Regions from separate parts of the Homo sapiens genome. Here all the other regions are linked to region 1. Evidence: promoter capture Hi-C in 16 types of primary human blood cells and fetal thymus (Javierre and others, 2016). All regions are on one chromosome and are shown on one strand. Each heading gives the region's core, a stretch centred on a gene start or on the middle of the fragment in contact. The rest is flanking DNA. Distances are from core to core; before and after follow the strand shown.

What was found. Contacts are between HindIII fragments. The CHiCAGO score rates a contact against its expected background, and 5 or more counts as called.
Region 2: a contact is called between a fragment that was not itself captured here and the fragment with the promoter of HCN4 in region 1, in 1 of 17 cell types (M2 macrophages). The highest score is 5.0, in M2 macrophages.
Region 3: a contact is called between a fragment that was not itself captured here and the fragment with the promoter of HCN4 in region 1, in 1 of 17 cell types (M2 macrophages). The highest score is 5.9, in M2 macrophages.
Region 4: a fragment that was not itself captured here is called in contact with the fragment with the promoter of HCN4 in region 1 in 2 of 17 cell types (M1 macrophages and endothelial precursors); the score reaches 5.7 in M1 macrophages.

What each region holds. Positions count from the first base shown.
Region 1 is chr15:73,367,565-73,370,452 of GRCh38, reverse strand. HCN4 (hyperpolarization activated cyclic nucleotide gated potassium channel 4) reads left to right here and starts at 1,495. Exons shown (of 8, transcript NM_005477.3): 1 at 1,495-2,888. The coding sequence starts at 2,183. The HindIII fragment of the contact is 7,030 bases long and covers 1-2,888 here.
Region 2 is chr15:73,858,370-73,861,257 of GRCh38, reverse strand. No RefSeq gene overlaps it. Among named protein-coding and RNA genes, the nearest start is that of TBC1D21, 14 kb to the left of the region's middle. The HindIII fragment of the contact is 214 bases long and covers 1,375-1,588 here.
Region 3 is chr15:73,832,497-73,835,384 of GRCh38, reverse strand. No RefSeq gene overlaps it. Among named protein-coding and RNA genes, the nearest start is that of TBC1D21, 40 kb to the left of the region's middle. The HindIII fragment of the contact is 1,601 bases long and covers 667-2,267 here.
Region 4 is chr15:73,767,708-73,770,595 of GRCh38, reverse strand. It overlaps INSYN1-AS1 (INSYN1 antisense RNA 1), which reads right to left and starts at 2,510. Exons shown (of 3, transcript NR_120353.1): 1 at 2,410-2,510; 2 at 1,736-1,843; 3 at 794-1,126. The HindIII fragment of the contact is 1,064 bases long and covers 992-2,055 here.

The DNA.
Region 1 (2,888 bases), core at 246-2,745:
TTCTCAAGGAGACCCAAGGACACTCAGGGATTAGGCTTCCAGCATCTGTGCAGAGAACTGTCAGCTCAGAGCTGCTCAAAAGTAAAAATGCCAGCTACCAGTGATGTCATCACCCTAGTCATTCCTCTCACTGTGGGAGGTCCTGTGGTCCAGTGGGTAGAGCAGAAGAGCCCCTGCTAGGCTGCCCGCCCCGCATCCTGCTCTCCAAATTCCTACTCTGGATGGAGGAGGCGAAAGTGGTCACATTGGGCTAAGAATGAGAGTAAAAAAATCATTTGAAGAAAAACTTGATGTTATTCCTCAGAGAGATGGCAGAGCCAGGGGACCTTTTTGCCTCCCTCCTGTGAGACTTTGCTGTGTGTCCGCTCCAGCATTAACCTCGGCTCCAGCCTTCTCTGGACAACTCCCCTCCCCTTAATGCCCAATCTGTCCCCCTATCCATTTCTGAGCTAATCTGGGGTATCAGGCTGTCCATGGTGTTGGAGGGGGTAGGGCTATACCTTAGGCTGAGCTAGTGAAATCTGTCCATAAGCCCGGACACTGTACACTGGGAGAGACTGGGAGAGAGGACACACAGTTGGATCCTTGGCGGGGGTTGGGGGGAAGGGGGCTGGGCTGCAGACTGGAAGGGAGTGGGGGCTGTGCAGCTGCTTGGGGGTGCAGGTAGGGGACTGGGTGGAACAGGAACTCACCCAGCGTGGGTCCACATAGTAGGTGTCATAATGTGGATGGGAACACAGGGAGAAGGGGCTCCAAAGCCAGTTCCAGAGTGCTGGGGCGTCCGAGGAACCGGCCCAACCGCTCCCCGCTGCAGCCGGCTTGTCCCTTTCTCGGAACTACCGAGGGAGAGGCGCGTGCGGAGGTCGGCGTTCGGATCTCGCATCCGTCACTGTTGCCGGCGCATTTCCTCGAAGTCTTACCTCGAAGGGCTGGGTCCCACCCGCGCGCCCTGTGCGTGTCTCCCTGTTTCCCCACGCCCTCCTTGCCTGGCTGCTGCGAGGCTTTGCAGGGGAAAGACTGGCGCGGGGTTCGCACCCTGCCCATGTCACAGGAAAACCGTGGGAGCCTCCCCGACGCGGCGCATTTCCGGAAGCCCCCTCTCCAGGAGGGTTGCGGGAAGGCCGGGACTCTGCATCCAGACGAACCCGGTCGCCTCCCAAGAGGAAAGTCGGAGACCCAGCTGAGGGGCAAAAATGCCAGGGAAAGGCGAGCCCAGAGCTTGGTGATGGAGAAATTGGGAAGCCACCCCCCACCCTTCAATCTTAGGATGGGGAATTCGCAACTGAAGCCGGAGCTTCAGACTTGGGGCGCACTCCCAGCTTAGCCCAGGAAAGAGATTTAAGGGCGCAGCAGTGTGGATACCTCTCACCCCGGCCCCGAAGGTCTAGCGAGGGTCTAACCTGGGCCCCTTGCCAGGCCCGCCCCCCGCCCCTTTCCAGCCCCCGGCCCGTGCGCCGCTGCCCCTTTAAGAAGCCCAGGTAGGCAGGCCCGGCTGCTGGAGCCGCTCCTATGGCAACCCGCGAGCTGCGGCGGCTTCATGAATATTCCGGGGCGCGGGAGCCCGAGCGCTGCCGGAGGGCGCTTCGGGGGAGGCGGCCGCTGATGTAAGCCCGGCGGGTCGCTGGGCTCCGCTCGGTTGCGGCGGGAGCCCCGGGACGGGCCGGACGGGCCGGGGCAGAGGAGGCGAGGCGAGCTCGCGGGTGGCCAGCCACAAAGCCCGGGCGGCGAGACAGACGGACAGCCAGCCCTCCCGCGGGACGCACGCCCGGGACCCGCGCGGGCCGTGCGCTCTGCACTCCGGAGCGGTTCCCTGAGCGCCGCGGCCGCAGAGCCTCTCCGGCCGGCGCCCATTGTTCCCCGCGGGGGCGGGGCGCCTGGAGCCGGGCGGCGCGCCGCGCCCCTGAACGCCAGAGGGAGGGAGGGAGGCAAGAAGGGAGCGCGGGGTCCCCGCGCCCAGCCGGGCCCGGGAGGAGGTGTAGCGCGGCGAGCCCGGGGACTCGGAGCGGGACTAGGATCCTCCCCGCGGCGCGCAGCCTGCCCAAGCATGGGCGCCTGAGGCTGCCCCCACGCCGGCGGCAAAGGACGCGTCCCCACGGGCGGACTGACCGGCGGGCGGACCTGGAGCCCGTCCGCGGCGCCGCGCTCCTGCCCCCGGCCCGGTCCGACCCCGGCCCCTGGCGCCATGGACAAGCTGCCGCCGTCCATGCGCAAGCGGCTCTACAGCCTCCCGCAGCAGGTGGGGGCCAAGGCGTGGATCATGGACGAGGAAGAGGACGCCGAGGAGGAGGGGGCCGGGGGCCGCCAAGACCCCAGCCGCAGGAGCATCCGGCTGCGGCCACTGCCCTCGCCCTCCCCCTCGGCGGCCGCGGGTGGCACGGAGTCCCGGAGCTCGGCCCTCGGGGCAGCGGACAGCGAAGGGCCGGCCCGCGGCGCGGGCAAGTCCAGCACGAACGGCGACTGCAGGCGCTTCCGCGGGAGCCTGGCCTCGCTGGGCAGCCGGGGCGGCGGCAGCGGCGGCACGGGGAGCGGCAGCAGTCACGGACACCTGCATGACTCCGCGGAGGAGCGGCGGCTCATCGCCGAGGGCGACGCGTCCCCCGGCGAGGACAGGACGCCCCCAGGCCTGGCGGCCGAGCCCGAGCGCCCCGGCGCCTCGGCGCAGCCCGCAGCCTCGCCGCCGCCGCCCCAGCAGCCACCGCAGCCGGCCTCCGCCTCCTGCGAGCAGCCCTCGGTGGACACCGCTATCAAAGTGGAGGGAGGCGCGGCTGCCGGCGACCAGATCCTCCCGGAGGCCGAGGTGCGCCTGGGCCAGGCCGGCTTCATGCAGCGCCAGTTCGGGGCCATGCTCCAACCCGGGGTCAACAAATTCTCCCTAAGGATGTTCGGCA
Region 2 (2,888 bases), core at 232-2,731, 490 kb before region 1:
GGCACTGATTGTTTAAAGGAGTAGTTTTTTCAACCTGAGTTAATCAAACTTTAATTGAAGAAAAAGTGAAGGTCTTGTTCTTATTTTATTGCATTTATGCATAGAACAATAAGATTGGTAAGTGGAGCTTAATCCTTCTAAAAAGCTATGTTTTTATATGTGTATCCTTAATAAATTGCCTATTAAATTTTAAAAGGTAGCTATAAATAGTATTTCTGTGTGCACAAGCCCCCACACACTCAGCAAAAAAGCCTCATCGACAGGATGCTTCCTTCCACCACTCCCAGGCAACTCTCACTGTCAGAAAGATGTCTTTCTCTCCACCTGAAATCCATGGGTAGTATAGACTGTAGAAGATACAAGCATTTGGAGACAGATTGGAGAGGAACTTTACTCCTCTGTGCCACCCTCTCCCTTCTCTGAGCATCTACTCTCCACACAACAGCTCCTGCTCACACTCTGTCCTGCTCTAGCCTGTCGCTCTTCTCTGGGTGGTTCTGTACCCAGGAAGAGAGCTGGAGGGAAGGTCCCTCCCCTGACAGCCCTGCTCCAGGATGGGCTCAGAGCAGGTGCTGAACCTGTGCAGGGACCACTGGGGCAGCTGGCCGGGGAACATGAGGCGGGGAGGAGAGGCCAGGTCCTGGCCATGTTTCTCAAAGCCTAGGCTGCAAAGAGGCCAGCAAAGAGGGGACAGTGAGGCCTCAAGCACATTGGGGACCACCTCTCTGGACTCAATAATGAAAACATCTGTATAAAGAACTTGATGGTTTCAGAAGGTTTCCATCCTGCGGCCATTTGACAGTGGGAGTTATTACCTCTTACCTGCAGAAGAAATATCCAGGGGTCCAAAAGAAGCACTGTACCTTCCAAGGTCACAAAGATATCAAGGGAAAACACCCAGACTAGAAGCCAAGGCTCCGGACTTTCAGCCTCTTAGTCTTTGCCTCTAGCATTCACAGGGGTGGGGTTCGAGGAGATAGTGTGAGAACAGAGCAGTGAGTGAGCAGCCACTCTGCATCCACAAACAGCCTCTCCCTGCTTCCTTCAAGTTTATCTGCTGGAAAGAGGGGTAGACGAGGGAGGAGGTAGAGCCAGAGAGGCATCGCGTCAGCCGCTCACTGTCTGTGATGGGTGCAATCTGGAAGCCCCAGTGGCCTAGCTCTCTACCCTAGGGCTGCAGTAGAGCCCTACCCTAGGGCCACAGAGACACCATGGACTTCTGCCCCAGGCTTCTTCCTGGTATGCCAGGGAGATGCATGAGGTGAGCATCTTTGGAGCTTTCCCACCTCCTTGAGTAAGCAGTGATAATACTGGCTGGAGGAGAAGCTCTAGTTCAGATCTAGCCTCCCTTCCTGCACTGTACCCCAGGAAGCTTTGCTCCCTAGGTGTGAACCTGGCTGGATTCCAGCTTCTGAGATCTTTCATCCTGGTTTTCAGTGAGCTGGAGTGGAAAAGTCTTTCTCTGTGTGGTTAATTTTGCACTGGCCCATTTTCCCTTTCTCTGTCCTCTTCTTACCTGACTCTAGGGGATGCCAAGGGAGGAAGACACAGCCAGTCAGCATTCCTTCCTAGGAGCCCATCAGAAGCTTCCAGGAGAGAGCCTTGGATGATGTGTGTGTGTGTGTGTGTGTGTGTGTGTGTGTGTGTGAATTTCCTGAAGACTGGCCAGGCCTCCCCAATCAGACAGGCAGGGACCCAGCCTTGACCAGCAGAGCTTTCAGAAGAGATGTCTCCCAACACCAAGGCCTCCTTATCCCACTGGCAGGTTCAGAAAGTGGAAGATGCTGGCAGTCAAAAGAACCCAGGCCAGCTCATTAGCCACCACTATCCAAAGGACTGGCCAGGCTGCTGGCAGGTGGGAAGCTTTGTCACACAACCCAGGCCAGTGAGGAACCAGGCCAGAGCTGGCAACCGGAGGACCGGATACCTGAGCACACTCCACAGATGCTCAGCCCTGACGGGGGTGGGGGGGGCGGGGGGGGTGGGAAATGAGTCAGCACAGCCCCTCATTATACAGATGGGAAACTGAGGCTCGGAGGGGGGCAAGCCCCTGGCAAATGTTGCAGGGCAAGGTAGGGACTGAAAACAGGTCTTTGAATTTCAATGTGGGTTTTTTACATAGTACCATGTCTCATTGTTCTAAAATCAGTAGATGGAAAGTTTGTTCATCTTTATTCATTGCCCCCTCCCAGGATACTTTTGGGTACCCGGCTAGTGCTGAGGCTTGGGGAGACCCAGGATTACGTGAGAGCCACTCTCTCAGTTGGGCCTTCCTCCCTACTTAGTGTTCAGGAGCCACGGCATGGGTTGGTAACTATGAAAGGGGATGTGCTGCAATAAAGCTACCAGCAGAGCAAAGGGGGATACAGGAAGACAGGAGACAGAAGGGGAGGGATTTTACTCACTTATACCTTACTTCATTCCCAAAAGATTGATGGTGGCAGAGAGGCTGTGAACCTACAAAGGTTTCAGGGTATGAGCTGGTCTTAAAGAGTGAACAGGATTCAGAGGACAAGATGAGGATGGGTCTTCCAGGAGGAAGGAACAGGTTGTGTAAAGACACAGGACATGTGTGAGGTCTCGTAGAGCCCAAGGTGGCTGAGGCAGAGGGGGCAGTGGAAATGCTGAAGGAGTGATGGTCCTGTTCAGATGGCCAGCCCATCGTGGGAACCATTGTGGATGAGCCTGCCCTTCAAAAGGCTGGTCACCTTGGCCTCAGTCACTGTTGTTGTATAACAAAGTCCCCAAAATTCAGTGGCTTAACATAATATTCATTTAACTTATTATCCTGTGGGTCAGAAATTTAGTCTGGGTTCTGCTGGGTGATTCTTCAGTTCTCAGATGGGGTCACTCACTCTGGAGGTCAGCTGGCTATTGGCTGACCTAAG
Region 3 (2,888 bases), core at 218-2,717, 460 kb before region 1:
TTGAGAAACGCTGCTACCAGACCACTGACTACATGGGTTGGAATCATTTGAGCTCTGTGATGTCCAACCAGACTGTGAGATTGTTCTGAGGGCAAGAAACATTTCTTATTCTTTTTATCCCCTCCTTCCTTCCCCAGTAGGGTACCACACACTTAGCAAATAAAAACACAGCACACCCACTTAAATGTGAATTTCAGAAGAACAACAGACAATTTTAGTTTAAGTATGTCCCATGCAATATTTCTGACATGGTTATACTACAAAATGATTTGTTGTTTCTCTGAAATTCAAATTTCATTTTAATGGATATTTGAATCTGCATTGAGTTTATTTATTTTTTAAAATTTCTTTGTGTGAAGCAGAACTAAGTGCCAGAAAAAACTAAAAATCAATGAAAATAAAATTTCTCTTCGTAGAGATGGGGGTCTTGCTATGTTGCCCAGGCTGATCTTGAACTCCAACCCTCCTCCCACCTTGGCCTCCCAAAATGCTGGGATTATACACGTGAGTGACTGCACCCAACCCTGAATTTATATTTAATTTGCATTTTGTCTACAACCCTATCCCAGACCCTGTCCTGTACCTAACCTGCACACAACACATGTTTGTTGAATGAGGCCTGAAAGGAGGAACACATGGGAGCCTCATGTATGAACCAAAGAAGCTTTACCCACCTCGCTTACTTTCCAGAGTGGCAGCTAAAATAAAACTGGTAAAAAGTGCTTTAGAAACACTAAAGCTGTGTACAAATGTGGTTTGTTATTACAGTCATCATCACCATTGCCATCACCTAAATAGCCCCAAATACGTCTGAGCTAGACTTTCTGAGCATTTGTGTATGTCAGTAATTCTTTTATATTGCTCAGACCAATCTGGATTTAGCACATTAGGGAAGATGACATTATATTACAATCATGTTATTACTATTATTACCACTCTTGATGTTGTTACAGTATGTTTCTTTATGAATCACTATGATTATTTTCCCTGCAAAGAATTTTGTGTTCTTGTCAGTGAATTTATTGTAATAATGAAACCCAAGACTTTCCCCAGGGCTCTGAGTGGCAGGTGCCTGGAAGCCCTACCTTCCTATCAAGAACCACATCCACCCGGGAGCAGTGGTTCATACCTGTAATCCCAGCACTTTGGGAGGCCAAGGCGGGCAGATCACTTGAGGTCAGGAGTTTGAGACCAGACTGGCCAACATGGAGAAACCCCGTCTCTACAAAAAATACAAAAATTAGGCAGGCATGGTGGCACACAGCCTGTGGTTCCAGCTACATGGCAGGCTGAGATGGGAGGATCAATTGAGCCCAGGAGGCGGAGGTTGCACTGAGCCAAGATTGCACCACTGCACTCCAGGCTGGGCGAAAAGCAAGACTCTGTCAAAAAAAAAAAAAAAAAATAGATAGATAAAAGAGCCACAACAACCATCAGTGGGTACCAAACCAAGAGAGTAAGTGTGCTGGCATTGGACCCTTTGTTTCGGGGGAAACAGAGATACAAGGTTAATTTCTGAGCCCAAACCCAGGTCAGCAGTTCCTAGAGTGTGCTCCTTGGACCAACAGCATTGGCATTACCTGATAGCTTGTTAGAAATACACATTCTTGGACTCCACTCTAGGCCGCTCAAATCAGAAATTCTGAGGGTGGGGTCCAGCAATCTATGTTTCAACAAGCTATCCAGCTGATTTGATTTCTCCCAAAGTTTGAGAATCACTGATCTAGGTGGAGGTGAGAGAACATGGAGCTCTCGCGTCCCTTCCAACCTAATGACTATAATTCAATTGTGTTCATGGAATCCAGGAAAATGAAGCCAAAGGAGTGGCGGAGGGAATGAGGGCACAGGGAGACAGGAGAGAGAAAATTAGAGAGGAGAGCATTGGCAGATGTGGTGTCAGACCCCCATGGCCATGGTCCTCCTTGAATCCCAGGTCCCCCAGGGAAAGAGTGAGTTTCTACAGGTGGAGATGGGGAAGTGTGGAGTGCTCCACACAGAACAAATGTTGTGCAAAGGTCCTGAGGATTGGCAGCAAGGGGCAAGTATGGGAAAGAGTGGGTTTCTAGGTGTGGCTGTAATCTGTGATAGGAGTGAAGATGGCTTAGAACCAGAGTATGGCAGCCCTTTGATGCCAAGAAGCCCATTCAGATTTCACCCAGCAGATGTCTGAAGGCCTCTGAAGGCTTTTGACCGGAGAGGGGCATGGTCATAGCTGTGCTTGGGTAAGATGAAGAGTGGAGGTAAGCTGAAAGCATAGCAAGGAAGCTTCCGTCAGGGCTGACTCTTCCAGTCACACAGCCAAGCCCTGGGGTTGCACAAGGCCACTTTGTGGCATAATGCCCTGGCTCTAAGAGTAAGGTTGGTCTTCTTCCCTGCAAAGGTGTCTGTTTTTATTTTTCATTAGAAAAATAAAAAACCAGTCCTGGCTGGCTGGACTTTGCAGCTCCTACCAGCTGTGGATTGGGACCTGTGGCAGACATAGCCATGACAGCTCCAGTTCCCCAACAAGGGCCTCAGCGGAGCTGTCCAGCAGAGGTTTTGATCTGACAGCAGCTGTGCTGTGGACACTTCTGAGGATTGGGATTTGGGGGCAGGTGAGGTAGGTGGGACTCACAGAGGGGAAGAAGGCAGATGGAATGCTGCCCTGCACCTCCCTGCCTCCCTGGTCTGTGGGAGGAAGCTGCCCCTGGACATGGTATCCCTAAGGTTTGGAGAAGGAGGAAGTCAGGATGGGGGAGAAGAAAAGAAGCAATATTTATACCAGTCCTGTTCACCCTCCCTCACTGCCGTCCCCCTGGCCTAGCCCTGCTTCAGGAGACTGAGGGGGTTCTCCTCTTCCTTTGAGGAGCAATAAAGGTCAGAGAAACCATCACACTTCATGGCACTTG
Region 4 (2,888 bases), core at 274-2,773, 400 kb before region 1:
AGTCAGGGTAGAATGAGAAAGCCTGCTATTAACACAATTATTTTACATTGTTTTGGAAGTTTTAGCCAAGGCAAGAGTACATTAATACACAAAAGGAAACACAACATTTGGAAAGGAGGAGAAATTGTCATCATTATTTGTACATGATATTATTGTTTATCCAGAAAACTCAAGAGAATCAACTAGAAAAGTAATAAGAGACTATGAGCGAGGTCAGTAAGATGACCAGTTTTGAAATAAATACACTGGCAAAGTCCAATTAGAAACCTTAAGAAGAAGAAAACTGAGGAGTGAGGCAGTAGCTCAAGGGTACTCAAGGTTGCAGAACAAGCCCAACCACCTCAAAGGTCTCCTGTTAGGGCCCAGCCTAGCAGGGAGGGGGAGAGAAAGATGGGGTGCACCAGCTGGAGCTGCAGAGGGCAGGGAAGTGGGGAGGAAAGGGGTATCCTGAAACATCTTTCTGGGCTGGTAACAGTTGGGCTTGGACTGGGAGCTGCCCTGTTGGGGGAATATCCAACCCTGTGGGCCTGGTTACCAGCAGCCCTGGCAGACAGCAGCTCAGGCCAATGGGATGCAGGCAGTTCTGAGAGCCGGTACCTGACTGCTGGGGGCTCCAGGATGCAGCAAGTCCAGGGTAGAGGACTGCAGACCCTGATGGAGAACTGTCATCCACTGCGGGGCACAGAGTCCAGCAACGAGATTCCAGCTAAGTGTCGCTGAACATCTGATGGGCTGATTACAAATTGGTCCCCTGGATTCATTAAAGTAGATTTCCCAAGAGAAGCTGTCCACGGCAGAGTCACACCCAGCCAACCTTTGAGCTCCATTCTGATGTCAGGGGCTGGCTCCTCAGCTCTCTGCCTCCAGGCTCCTGGCAACTGGGCCCTTTCTTGCTTGGGGTGGCATGATTCCCCTGGAGGCATCCGGCAGGTCTGCAGATGCACAGGCACTAGATGCAGTGCCCCCAGGGCCATTCTCAGAAAGTGAAGCTTGATTTTTTTTCTCCATCCATGGTGTGAGTATGGCATGAAATGCATGCACGGCTCCTCTCACATGATGAACAATCTCTGGGATTTACACCCAAACTTCTCCTTTCTCTCTTGTCCTCCTCACTCATGGGCCCCATCTGCATGAGAAGAAAAGAGAAGAAGAGAAGAGAGGAGGAGAGGAGAGGAGAGAAGAGGAAAGGAGAGAAGAGAAGAGAAGAAAGAAAAAGAAAAAGAAAAAACAAAAATCAAACAAACAAGACATCACTCATTCCCCCCGTCTACCCTCCCACCCCACCCCACCCCATTTGCTCCCCACCCACTCATACAACTGCCCCTGTCCAGGGAAAAGACAATTACTTCCAGATAAGATGTTGCCATTTACAAGGAGATTTCATGCAAAGCAATGGTTGGAGCTTCCATGGTAGAATTTTAGGACAATATGTAGGAGTACAATATTTTAGACATTGAATTATGTGAGGATCAAATAATTGAAAGCTGGAATTTTTTTTTCTTTTTGAGACGGAGTCTCGCTCTGTTGCCCTGGCTGGAGCACAGTGGCATGTTCTCCACTCACTGCAACATCCACCTCCCAAGTTCAAGCAATTCTCATGCCTCAGCCTCCCAAGAATCTGGGATAACAGGTGGCCACCACCATGCCCGCCTAATTTTTGTATTTTTATAGAGACGAGGCTTTACCATGTAGGTGAGGCTGGTCACAAACTCCTGACCTCAGGTGATCCGCCCACCTTGGCCTCCTAAAGTGCTGGAATTATAGTCATGAGCCACCACGCCCGGCCAAAAGCTGGAAATTAATGAGTTCAATGCAGACTTCAAACTTCTTGAGGAGGCTGTGGCTGTTGAGTGGTGGAGAGGAGAGGAAGGGAAGGAGGGAGGAAACAAACACATATTGAGCACCTACTCGGTGCTTTCCCTGTGATGTCCCATGTAGGCCACAACCATAGAGTGCAGGCATTATTTATGCCTGGTTTCAAACCCTGGTCACTTGGATCCCATGATCCTGTGTTCCCAAGCTCCAGCCCCCAGCTGCTCCTGAGAAAGTCAAGCTTCAGAGAGCAGGGCTCCCACTCCCAACCAGATGCTCATGGCTTTCTCCTTTCACACCCAGGCCTCTACTCTGCTGTTCACCTACCTTGGTCTTTTTATCTGCCTTGGTGCCTGGAATTACCGGATCACTGCTTCCTACCTTGGGGTCAGAATTGCCCTCCCACAGGTACTCTGTGACCACACAGACATCCCTGTGGGGGCCACACTCAGCACCAAGCCCTCATGGAAAGCAACTTTTTAGGCAGGATGGGGTGGGGCACAGAAAGGAAAGGTGGGGCGGCGGTTTCTGTTGCAGGTCCTGGCCTGGCATGTCCCCAGCCCCCAACCTTCCCTCTTCAGCAAGCTCACTGATTACCTGGAGTCCTCATCCTCAAGGCTGGAGTCTGGGAGAAGACTCTTGGAGGTGGGTTTGTTTGGCCTAATTCACCAAGGCCCCCTGGCTCCCTTGGTCTTGTCACCATGGAAACCTTGTGAGGTCACCAGCACCATTCAAATAAGAGAAAAAAACGTTTCTCCCTCCCACAAAGTGAGCTCCTAGTTGACTCCAGTGGCTTCTATGGAGGAACCGGAGGGCGGGGCCCAGTCCGAGGAAAAGACCTGGCCCAGCCCTCAGGGATGGGTTAACCCCTTGATGCCCAGATGATGGCTGCTCAGACTCACGCCTTCTGCCTCTCTGAAGTTTCTCAGGCATCTGTGCCCCGGAAGAGTGAATCCTGCAGCTTTGTATACACACCAAACAGCTTCATGCTATACCTGGAAAGGTGGGGAAGGAGCTCTGAATCCAGGCAATTCTAGTGAACAAAAACTGCCTACTGGAGATTCAGGGAGCTGTTG